Regions from separate parts of the Homo sapiens genome. Here all the other regions are linked to region 2. Evidence: promoter capture Hi-C in human tissues and cell types (Jung and others, 2019). All regions are on one chromosome and are shown on one strand. Each heading gives the region's core, a stretch centred on a gene start or on the middle of the fragment in contact. The rest is flanking DNA. Distances are from core to core; before and after follow the strand shown. Region 1 has its middle 18 kb from the start of AQP1. Region 2 holds the start of ADCYAP1R1 (ADCYAP receptor type I). Region 3 has its middle 71 kb from the start of ADCYAP1R1.

Region 1 (3,761 bases), core at 1,105-3,604, 120 kb after region 2:
CCAGGAGCATGGGTGGCACCTATTGGTAAAGTCCCTCTGGCTGCTAAGGTGTTTCAAATCCAACTCTCCAGGATATTTCCCTCCAGAAAAATCTCCCCGAGGGCGGCCTGGGTAGCTTCACACTTAGGGAGAAAGAAGGAAAGGGGCAGGGGTCTGGAACCCTCTGAATTTTCTGGAATCGAAACTGCAAGCCCATGGAGGCATTCCTGGGCATGGCGTCTCAGACCTCACATTCCTGGAGGCAGATGCAGCTGTTCCTCCCAGCCCTGGAGGTCACTGCCAGCAGCGGAAATTCTTGGAGTTCGTCTCGGATGGAAGCTGCCACAGGCCCGTCAGCTACAATCCAGGCGCGGTAGCGGCTCACCAGTTCCAGGGAACTTCAGCTACAATCCAGGCGCGGTAGCGGCTCACCAGTTCCAGGGAACTTCACGAACAGTTTAGCAGAGGAGTCACTCCCACCCAAGGGCCCAGAAATCCTCCCGCAGGGCCTGGAATGGAGACTCCTCTTTAGGTCTGCAGAGACACAGATGGGAGAGAGGGGGGGAAAGCAAGGCAGGACAGAAAAAGGTACAGGCATAGGGAGGGCGAGGAGATCCCTGAGTCCATCTCCTCGCTGCTGAGACCCAGACACAGGGTGAAAGCACAGAACGCTAGGAAAGGGCACCCTGAGGTGTATTTCAGAGCTGCGGCACGTGCTTGGCGTTGGCATGCACTTGGCATTGGCACGCGCAAGGTGGCCTGTTGGAACTATGGGGCCACATCCCCTGTGACCAGCCTCCACAACCTGTCTCTGTCAATGATTTCACTGGGACATGAAACTAGCTCTGGCCACGCTATGCCGTCTTAAATATGGAATTCACCTCCCAGTGCCTGACTTCACAAGGAATGTCAGCTGAGGAAATGTGATCAATGAATACAAAGGTTACTGACATTCTTATCACATTTCGAATTTATTATACATTTCTTATTGAAAAAAAAATGTTCACTGACCCAAAAAAATATTTTGTGTATAATCAGTCCAAGGTTAGACGTTGGATCTGGCAAAGAAGATGGATGAGAGCATTGGTCCTGACAGCCTGGTTTGGCAAGTGAGGAAGGGGAGCCCAGCCTCCCACCAGACCCCCAGGAACTTGCTCTTCCCAGCAGGAAAAAACAACATCAGCTGCCCAGAACTCGGCAATGTGCCTCTATTCTGCGACTGGGTCTGGATAAGATGCCCTCATATTGTTCAACAGCTAGATTTAAAGGTTTCCTTGGAGTCCACATGAATCCTGTCATCCCCGGCAGGCAGTAGCCTGACACAGTCCAGAAGACCCTGCAGCTGGGCCCACAGGCAGCTCGCAGACGTGCACAGATGCAGCGTGGGCATTCCTGCTGACAGGCCTGACATGACTCTCCGAAGAACTGAACCTCCTATGCACGTGCACACACACACACACACACACACACACACACACCCAAAGTGATATTCCAAATATATTAACACCCTGTGTGCCATAAGCACCACCCCCAGCCATCAACTTTACACGTACATGATTAAAATAAATTTTCTTACTTTCATTGGTTTGATTTGTTTTGGTTTCCTATTTGAGTTCCTTAAAGGCATAAGTTATTACATCTATTTAAGTTGCATTATGAAAAATATAAGCTAAGTTTAAAAAAAAAACACTCATATGAAATAAGGCACCAGGGACACTTTGACCCCTTTCAGAGTGTTCAAGACTGCTGTGAATTGTAAGCTTCAATCCTTAAGAACTTTTTCATCTGTACTGATTCTCTGATTTGCTTTTTTTGGATTGGACTCTTTTGTTGAATCAGCTTCCCTCATATTACTATTTCAGAGGGAGAAAGGATAATACTCTTCTACAAATTATATATCTACTTACCTACTTAAGCTTATTGAGAAATGTATGCCAATTCACCCTTAATGAACACAAGCCAGGCCAGCCTTCTCAAATCAATATTCTACCTGGAGAGCATGCTGGCTCTAGGCAAACTGAGTCTAGTAGCTGGTGGTGACATCTGTTAGGAAGAACACGTCTCTTGAGTTCCACATAACTCAAGGCACAGAGGGAGCAGAGCCGTCAGAGCACAATGGGAGCATCCTGGGGGAAAGATGCCCCCCAGGTCCCAGCTGCACCCCACACATGCACTGTCACTGTCCCACCTGGCCTCACTCCCTGGGCATTCCAGATGAAGCAAAGCACCACCTCCAGGTCAGGGAGGGACTGGGACACCACAGACATCACAGAGAAGGGACGACTTCACCCACTCTCCTTACGGGTGGGGAGACTGAGGACCAGAGAGGGCAGGAGCCTTGGACTCCAGCCTTGGACTATGTGCCCCAATCTGCTGACACACACACACATGCACATACACACACTTTTTTTCTAACTTGGACCTTGCTGGATAGACACCTCTTACTGCTTCCCACCCAGGGTTGATGTGTAAAACATATACCATCCTGGTATTGTGGGGACACCAATCCATCAGAACTATCCCACAACTTTAGTACTGGACAGGGTCCGAGGGGCCCCCTTAACACATTGAGTGCTGGATTGTGGGGAGGTCTGGGGGAGAATAGAGAGAGGCCGGGAAGCTAGGAAGGCCAGAGAGCAGGGATGGGAGGATGTTACTTGGATAGCTCAAAACAGATGAAAATATTTTAATATTTTAAGAGCAGGTGGGCTGGGCACGGTGGCTCGTGCCTGTAATCCCAGCACTTTGGGAGGCTGAAGTGGATGGATCACCTGAGGTCAGGAGTTTAAGACAGCCTGGCCAACATGATGAAACCCCGTCTCTACTAAAAATACAAAAACTAGCCAAGTGTGGTGGCACACGCCTGTAATCCCAGCTACTCGGGAGGCTGAGGCAGGAGAATCACTTGAACCCGGGAGGCAGAGGTTGCAGTGAGCTGAGATCGCACCACTGCACTTCAGCCTGGGCAACAGAGGGAGACTTCATCTCAAAAAAAAAAAAAAAAAAACAGGTGAATCTGTACTAGCCCGTACGGCTGAAGATCAGTTGTGCTCTCACCCAGTTCCAGATTGATGCGCTGGAAAGAACAGAAAAATAAGCAAAATCCTACATGCAGAGAACATGGCTTTATTGGAATGAAGCAGAATCACCTAAGCAGGATGAGCTCATTAAAATTGCTGGATACCCTTTGCCATAGGTCTCTCTGCACACCAGGGCCCAAGGTATCAGTGGGGACTAGTGGGCTCTTGAGGGCTAGGGAAGACACCCCTGTAAGCACGGGCTTCACCTGCCTTCCCTACCTACACAATCGCCCCCTTTTTGGCAGTAAGGACAGTAAACATCACTACCTTTGGGTCTTTGGGCCCCCAAGAATGGCCCCATCCTGGCCCCCAGCTCAGCAGCAAATTCCACTCATCGTCCTCATTGTATTCTAAACCTAAAGAAAACAAGGTGTCATGCCCAGCAGTTCCTCCATGAAACATTAATCACTGTCCCCTCCTAGACAGGCTTCTGACCAGTGAAGGCATGACCTACAGGAGCGATGGAAAAATCCCAATGGGCCAGCACATGGCCTGGCCACGCCATGGGTGGGGGCCCCGGCACCAGTTCCTCCAGTGCTTTTCCAGACTCCTGGCTTGGGTTCCAGGGATACTGAGGACCGCCTAAGAATCCCGAAAGAGAGAGAACCCTCCTTGCACCTACCGCATCCCCCAAGAGTGCCGTGGTCCTTGTGGTCAAGTGGCCTTGAGCCACCCACACCCTTCCATTTGGGCCCTCGGAGC
Region 2 (4,378 bases), core at 685-3,184:
TGGCCAAAGAGGAAAAGTATCAGGCCCGCCTCCATCGTCACCCCACACACACTTGTTGATGGATCAGTTGGAAGAGCTGGCCCAGGGCCTGCTCAGCGTGTTCCACCTCCAATCTGTATGTTCAGATTTCGGCTTGTGTCCAAGCTGGTGCCTCTGCCTGCCCTCCCCAAGGTCAGTGAGGAGCAGAACTTAGCTTAGGACTGGGGACTCCACCAGTGCTACTTGTACCCAGCACCAAACTCATTTAATTGGGGTCTCCTGAGAAAACCTGGGTGCTGCCTGCTGCCCCTGCCCCCAAAGGCTCAAACATAGTTTTCCATCTGCTTGGGAATCCTACCGCCACTCAAAGCTTCTAGCTTGACCTTCAGGATGCTTGTCTGCCTCTGGCCAGCTGCAGTCCCAGGGCAAGTTGCCCTCCACATGCTGCGTCCAGCCCCTTCCCATCCCCCAACTCCTCCCCAGGGCCGCTCATGGGAAGAGCCAAATGCTGTGTCTTGGAGAGGGCCAGGGGGGCTTTGCGGGACATTGTAAGGCTGGGGAAGATAAAGGGAGTCTGACGCACCTGCACTCAAAAACATAAAAATGGTCGGAAGAATTAGCAGGTGTCCACCACCCCACCCCCATCTTCCAAAAAGGGGCTGAGCTCCATCCAGGGGTGAGGCTCCCCTCCTCAGCTCCACGTGAAATGCAATCGGCTTCCGGCTGGGTTCCCTCCTGAGGGTCTAGTTGCATCCATCGGCTCCCCTGTCCCTTCTGAGCCCCCTAACCTGCCAAGGTCCCGCCGAGGATGTGGCCTCCGCCCCCCGCAGCCGCCGCAGGAGCTTCTGCCTCTAAAGCGGCAGGCAGGGGTCTCAGCGGGCCCACTTCAACCTGGGAAGGCCGGTGCGTTTCCCCACAGACCCCGCAGGGCGTTTCTTCTGGGGACCACTGAAGCCCTGGCATCCCCAACCCCAGCCCCTCCGCGCCACGGGAAACGAAGACGACACTCTTTTGAACAATCCCGGATGTGTCACCACAGAGGGGCATTCTACACTGGCCCCTACCCCAACCCCCACCTAGCACATTGCTTGCCCACCCCTCAAACCCCGTGCGGATTGCGGTACCTAGCCCCGGGGGACCCTCCAGCCCTGCCTTCCCGATCCGCGTAGGTGCGTCCGTCCACCTAAGGGTAGGGAGGCATGTCCCTCCGGGTCCCTCCGGCCGCATGGCTTGCCTGCCCCCCTGGTCTCCCTTCTCCGCATCAGGAGGGGCGTGAGATAGCTAGGTCGACCCCCACCCCGGCAGTCTGCGGCGATCGGCCGCCCCGAGCGCAGCGCCAGACACTTGGGTTGGGGGGTGTCAGCCTGACGCGCAGGAAGGGCGCAGCGGCGGGAGGGGGCTTCATTTCAGATCTGGGAGGCTTGCCTGGCGCCGGCCCTCGCCCGCTCTCCGTCGGTGGAGGTCGCGGCTGGCGGAGACCGCCAAGCCAGAGGAGGGGATCCGAGGTCCCGGCTGGGCGAAGGTTCTGGAGGGGGAGAAGACGGCCGAGGCGTGGAGGGGCAGCCGCGGCGGGGCGACCCTTACCTGCTCACTGCGGGGCCTGTCCGTGGGGCCGGGGCAGACTCCGCAAAGGACGCGCAGCCTGCAAGTCCGCGGCCCGCGCGGCGCGGGGATGGGGAGCGTGTGCGCCGAGGAGCGCGCGCCGAGCCGGGTCTCCGCGCCTGTGTGGCCGGCTGGCGGCCGGGGTCCGTGTGTCCCTGCGCGGCGGCGTGTGCGTGTGCGCACGCGGGGACCACGCTCGCCCGGAGCCGCCGCCGCCGCCGTCACTCCCTGCCCGGGGCCGAGCGCAGCGCCCCCTTTGCCCGCCCCGCGCGGCGCGGCAGTCCAGCTTGGCTCCGTCCTGCGGGAGAGGCGCCGCCTCCGCCGCGAAGCCAGGCTGGGCGCTGGAGGGAGGCGACCGACCACCGCCTCCCCCTGCTCACTTCACAGGCTGGGGAGGGGGTGCTGCAGGCCAATGAGCGCCCGGGGGCGGGGTTAGATCGAGGGCGGTGCGGTGGGGGGCGCGGTGGGGGGCGCCGGGCTGCTCAACCCGACCCCACCCGCAGCACAGACTGGAGCAGGAGCTGCGGCGGGAAATCCCAGCGGCGGGGGTCGGGGGCGCTGAGGTGGAGCCCTCAGCCCCCTGTCATCCCCGTCTCCTCTGACTCTGGGCCTCCTGGGCTCACCACCCTCTTTCCAGTCTCTCCATCATAGCCAGGACTAGAAAGCCTTCTTTCTTCTCCCTAGGTCCTCAAGATTTCCTGTGTATCAGAGCCTGTCTTCCCTCTCCTCCAAGAAGCCTTCCTTACCAGGCAAGTCTCAGACCCTCCTTGGGCTCTTCTTTGCCCCTACCGCCCAGGCCTGGGAGGGTCAGCTAGTTTTGGGGTGCCTGTCGGGATGTCCTCCAATGTGACCCCCCCGCCCCCGGAGAAAGACCAGGAAGGGGATGGTGGTGCTTACAGGACAGAGGCAACTTAAAATATCAGACTGCCTGGCTCCAGTCCCTGCTGTGCCACAGCTCTGTGAGCTTGGGTAAGTGGCTCAGCCTCTCTGAGCTTCAGCTTCTTCATCTGCACAAGGGAACAATAGTACCGGCCCCCAGGTCTCTTCACAGCAGCATTAAATAAAAATGGTACACTCACCCCATAGTAGTTTCTCCCTGGTATCATTGATTCGCCGATGCTGAATAAATTACTATTGCTACTGTTATTACAGTCCTGTCCAACCTCCTCCTAGTGCAAATGGCTTAATAAGGAGAACTACACAGGTAAAGGTGGCCTAGCGGGTTGGCAGCGAAGCCCAAACTTAACTGAGAGTAGTTAGTTACCCACTCCCAGGCAAGTTCTCACCCTCTGCCCACCCCACCCAGCCCCCATCCCACAGCTGCTCCTGCCTGCCTCTGCTCTCGGTTTTTGGTCCCTGCCTCAGGCGTCAGTCTCTGAGAGCTCTCAGTTCTGCAGCCAGGCTCTGTTCTTGCCCATTCAAGTAAATTCTCGCTCAGCTTCCCTTTGGGTCCAAGTTCTAGGTATGGCCACCTTGTCCAGGAGGCCTCAAGAAGGGGGAAGGAGGAGGGAGAGCCTTGAGCCTTCCTTTGGGGTCGCCAGTCTACCAAAGAGGAAAGGACCTGTGGATGGAGAGGAATCCATATGGAAACTTGAAAGAAGCAATCTGAGGGCCCAGAAAGACGCGTGGAGGTTCCTAGGTCCATGTTTCTCTTTACTGACCAATGACCGCTGACCCCCATTGACACAACACACTGGTAGTCTGATTGGTTCATGTTCCTTTCAGTCCAGGAGAGCTTCCTGGTGGAGGAGAATATCAGTCTTATCTATATCAAGAAAGAATGAAGAGAAAGGAGAGAAGAAATAATGGAGAGAAAAGGGCCAGGTGCTGTGCTAAAATCAGACACAGACAGGACCTCCCTTTAATCCTGGCTAACCCCTTCTTAGCTTGTTGCCCTAACCCCTGAGAGCTGAGAGCCGCTTTCTTCATCTGCCTCCAACTCTGGTGTTGTGAAGATCAAATGAGATGATGTGTATAAAAACTCTCTATAAACTGTGAAACTAAGTGTGAGGGAAAGGAGGCTGCCAGGAGTCTCAGAGTCAAGAGGGACTCAGAGTGCAGGACGTAGAGGGCCTGGGAGTGAGAGGAAGGGTGAAGATCAAGGTCATCTATGGCAGACCAGCCCATCCTGGGAATGTGGATGGCCAGGCTTCCAGATAGAGGCCCCCCTACTTTGAAGTTCAGCACTCAGTTCCAGATTTATTCTCTTTCCGTACTCTTGGTTCTCCAGTTTCCACTGCGGGTTCCAGATCCCCTGGAAGGGGCCAGTGGGGCTGGAAATCCAGATCCTGCTCTACCCACTGCCCACCAAACCAGGCATGCCCCCATCTACCCAAAAAGGGCAGTTTTTTCTAGTGGATTCACCTGGAGGCGGCACCTCTCTAACTGTCTTAAAGATGCCGTGTAGGCTAGCAGCCCTCGTAGATTTCGATTCTAATTCCAGCCCCCCGAGTAGCATCAGCCTGGGTGAGGCATGGAACACACATTAGAGCTGGGATCCAGGAGGGTTGTCTAGTCTCCTTCTCTATGGGTGGGGTACCTTAGCCCAGAGGGGCAACAAGACTAGCCCAAGGACACACAGGCAACTTTCTTATCAGAAATCTTATCCTGCTGCCCAACTTAGTGTTGTTCTACCTTGTGAGCTCTTCCCACCCCCTTAATTCTGGAAGCCACTCAGGCTTTCACGTCCTGCGCTGTTCTCCGCCTGTCACAGGCATGCCACTGTGGTCTCTCCAAATAATCTTGGAAGAGGAGCTATGCCAATTCTGTTCCCTGAGATTAGGCCTCCCCAGGGACA
Region 3 (3,905 bases), core at 222-2,721, 72 kb before region 2:
CTGTGTAATGGGATTTTGCTGTGCCCATGAGGCATAGGAAGATGAATAAAATACATGCCTGCCACCAGGCTTATAGGTCAAAAAAAAAAGGACATTTTCTCTCCTGAGGCTGTAGGCCTTAGGAAGGCTTATGGGATCAAAGGACAGTGTGGCTGCAGGACATTGGCATGGAGAATGGAATCAAGAGAGCAGCTATGCAGGATGCGTCAACCCTGGGCTCTCTCAAAGGCACAGTTCCTTTGTCCCAGGGGCATCTCTTGGGTAGTCACAGGTATTGGCTGCCTTCCTTTAGACCAGAGGACCTGGGCTGCGCAGCAGGAGGGAGTGGCAGATGAGCAAGCATTACCGCCTGAGCTCCGCTTCTTGTCAGATCAGCAGTTGCATTTGATTCTCACAGGAGCTCAAGCCTATTGTAAACTGCACAGGGAGGGATCTAGGTGCATTCTCCTTACAAGAATCTAATGCCTGATGATCTGAGGTGGAACAGTTTCATCCCAAAACCATCCTCCTGCCACCCAGTCCCTGGAAAAATTGTCTTCCATGAAACCAGTCCCTGATGCCAAAAAGATTGGGAACCGCTGCTTTAGAAGGCTGCCTCTCTGCGGTGAGTCCAGAACCCAAACAACATGCTTCAGTGCTTGTAATGTTACATGGAAAGCCCAGAGAATGTTTCAAGATCCCAACTACAGACTTTGGTTTATTTTGGGTTTTGTTTTTTGTTTTATTTTGCTTTGCTTTGTTTCATTTTGTTTTGTTTTTGAGACAGACTCTTACTCTGTCACTTAGGCTGGAGTGCAGTGGTGCGATCTCAGCTCACTGCAGCCTCCGTCTCCCAGGTTCAAGTGATCCTCCCACCTCAGCCTCCCAAGTAGCTGGGACCACAGGCATGCACCACCACCCCTGTCTAATTTTTTTTTTTATTTTTAGTAAAGACGAAGTCTCACTATGTTGCCCAAGTTGGTCTCAAACTCCTGAGCTCAAGGGCTCCTCCTGCTGGGGCCTCCCAAAGTGCTGAGATTACAGGTGTGAGCCACTGTGCCAGACCCCAAATACAGACTATAGAATAAGTTTGGTGTCAATGCCATGATTTAAAGTGAGTATCCTCAGCAGGAACTCAATGGAAGTTGACGTTGACTGAGCCAGTACCATCAGAGATGAAGAATTATGACAGGAGAAAGGTTCCAATTGTTATAACTAGATAAATGAATCACCTAATTTCTCAAGGGTAAATTTTTGGAGAATTGTAGGAAAATGGATCTGGTGACAGTATCTGGTTGCCATATTTTATTTTCACTATTGAACATAAGTTGTCTAGGTACGGTGGCCACATCTGTGATCCCAGCACTTTGGTAGGCTGAGGTGGGTGGATCGCTTGAGCCCAGGAGTTCAAGACCAGGCTAGGCAATATGGAGAAACCCCATTTCTAAAAAAAAAAAAAAAAAAAAAACAAAAAAATTAGCCAGGTGTGGTGTGGTGCACACCTGTATCCCAGCTACCCAGGAGGTGGTGGGAGGATCAATTGAGCCCAGGAGGTCAAGGCTGCAGTGAGCTGTGGTCCAGTCCCTGCACTTCAGCCTGGGAGACAGAGTAAGACCCCGTCTCCAAAAAAAAAAAAAAAGAACTTAACTGAATTCATCTTATTCTCCATTATTTGTTTCCTGTTTCTTTCCCTCTCTGCTAGAATTATTGTGCCAGCGATAACAAGATTGTCATATCTGCTGCTATGCCCCAAGGCCTGGAAGAGTGCCCAGCTCATTGAAGGCACTCAGTCAATAAGTGTCAGTAGGCTAGATGAACAGTTCTTCCATGCCTAGATCTAACCTGACCTTCAAGGCAAGTTTTCCCTAATCCTGAAACTGGACCTTATCTTTTCTGGGCCTTGTTGATGGCACATGTTTTTGTCTAGATTCTGTAGCAGTAGAGCCTGAAGTAGAGATCCTTGAGCAGGGATCTTACAGAAGGAGTGCATGGGGAGACACTGAAGGGCAGTGAGGAAGCGGGGATGGGTGGAGGAAGGAGCCAGACCTCAGCAGAATCAGCCTCATGCTGATCCAGCAGGAGCCACTGATGTCAACCACAGAGGTGGTCCCAACCAGAGGCAAGGCGGCTGGGCGGTTACCCCTACATCCCTCAGTCACTGGCTACCGGCCACCCTGGATGAGAAAGGTGAAGGGGGTAGTCTTACCCCTCAGAAATCTGCCAGCAATTGTCTGCAGAAGAGGGCAGGGTAAGCTCTTAGCAACCCAACCTGCAGCCGCTGGACTGGGGAAGGCGCCTAGTCCTGGCACTAGCAGCTTTGGGGAGGATGCATTTCCCTGTTTGCCTTCTTTTTAGAGTCTTTATTAACATTCTTAAAAATAATAAAGCTTCTTGAGATCAAGATTCTTATCTCTTTAACTTTCATGTCCTCAAAAGCATCGGATGATGGACTTAGTAAATATCTCAATGAAAATCCAAAGATGGATAGATCAGTTATGTTAGTGTTTACAATCTAGTGTGAAAATTCTTAGACACATGTTCACTTTCTAAATGACACCAAAGCCATGCTTCTTATATTTATGTGGTCTCAATAAATAAGTTTTCTGTATGATCAGAAAAAAAAAAGTAAATGTGTGCTTTATCAAAAAAATATAAAGGGTTAAACCACTGCAAAATCCTCTGTAGGACACATTCTTTCTACAGGCAATGTAAGACTAAAGTTTTTCCTCCAAATGTAAATTATAGTAAATATTTTAACTTGTTCTTGCCCTTCATTATCTCACTTATGAGTCATTGTGTGGAAACAAGCCTGGTTGGCAGAAAAATCGGAACTGGAAAGAGCTCCTGCTATTTCCAAAGGGGAGCTCTTGGCTGCTCGTGTTACCAACCAAATGACCAGAAGAGGGCAGTGCACACCCAGACGCTGAATTTTGCCCTAAGAAGCCAAGATGGGGAACTTGTTGAGGGGCAGCTTGGCTGGGGGAGGAGTGGCTCTGAGTTCCAGACATATTCTGTTGTCTGCTGCCTCACCCGCCACTCAGGCTAAGTGACTGTGGTTGGGTCACGGCCCGCTGTAAGTGTTCCTCTGCTTGGGATCTGCCTTTCTGTGCTTCCAGGTTTGCTACTGTAAACCAAAAGGTGCCTGCAACAGGTCTCAATTTAGAAGTTTATTTTGTCAAGGTTAAGGATTCATGCCCGAGAGACAGGTCTGTGCCTTTCTCCAAAGATGATTTTGAGGACTTCAATACTTAGAGGGGAAAGGGTAGCTACTGGGGGAAGAGGAAGACATTTTTAAAAGGTGTGAGTTCATAAGAGGCAAACAGTCGCATTCTTTTGAGTTTGATCAGCTTTTCTCTATGCCAGAAGGGGTAGAGGAACAGTCACTTATGAATTCATCTAGCTCAGTGGATCTGCACTTTTACCTAAGATAAAATAAACATAGGGCAGAGGAAGCAATCAGATATGCATTTGTCTCAGGGGAGCCGAGGGATGGCTTTGAGTCCTGTTCTTTGTCCCGTACCTATGAAGAGAAGCTATCAGTGTACTTTGTCGGGGTGAAATTCAACAGAACTGTTTCAGGGTTGAGACACTGGGTCCCAGAAGGAATTTCCCAGTGGGCAAATTGTGAGCGAGGGAGGGAGGGAGGATTTTTTTTTTTAATCTTTGTAGCTATCTCATTTAGCAATAAAATGAGAGACAGGTTTGCCCCCAGTTCCCAACTTCACTTTTCTCTTTGGCCTACTGATTTGATCCTGAGATTTCTTTTCCTTTCACACTGCCCCATGGGCTGGGCCCAATCTCAGGCCTGGTGTTGCTGAGAAGCTCAGTGCAGCCTGGGTCTCCCATAGGCCACAGGGCAGGCAAACCTCTCCTCAGAGCTGAGTGTGTGGTTCCAATCAGGGATGGGGCTCTAGCCAGTCATTGGG

Evidence for each region. Contacts are between HindIII fragments. The study calls those that stand out against the background at their distance.
Region 1: a fragment that was not itself captured here is called in contact with the fragment with the promoter of ADCYAP1R1 in region 2 in 4 of the 25 tissues and cell types used here (H1 embryonic stem cells, heart right ventricle, mesendoderm cells and 1 more).
Region 3: a fragment that was not itself captured here is called in contact with the fragment with the promoter of ADCYAP1R1 in region 2 in 2 of the 25 tissues and cell types used here (H1 embryonic stem cells and mesendoderm cells).

What each region holds. Positions count from the first base shown.
Region 1 is chr7:30,928,336-30,932,096 of GRCh38, reverse strand. No RefSeq gene overlaps it. Among named protein-coding and RNA genes, the nearest start is that of AQP1, 18 kb to the right of the region's middle. The HindIII fragment of the contact is 4,778 bases long and covers 1-3,761 here.
Region 2 is chr7:31,049,864-31,054,241 of GRCh38, reverse strand. It overlaps ADCYAP1R1 (ADCYAP receptor type I), which reads right to left and starts at 1,934. Exons shown (of 16, transcript NM_001118.5): 1 at 1,564-1,934. The HindIII fragment of the contact is 8,235 bases long and covers 1-4,378 here.
Region 3 is chr7:31,121,762-31,125,666 of GRCh38, reverse strand. No RefSeq gene overlaps it. Among named protein-coding and RNA genes, the nearest start is that of ADCYAP1R1, 71 kb to the right of the region's middle. The HindIII fragment of the contact is 4,582 bases long and covers 1-3,762 here.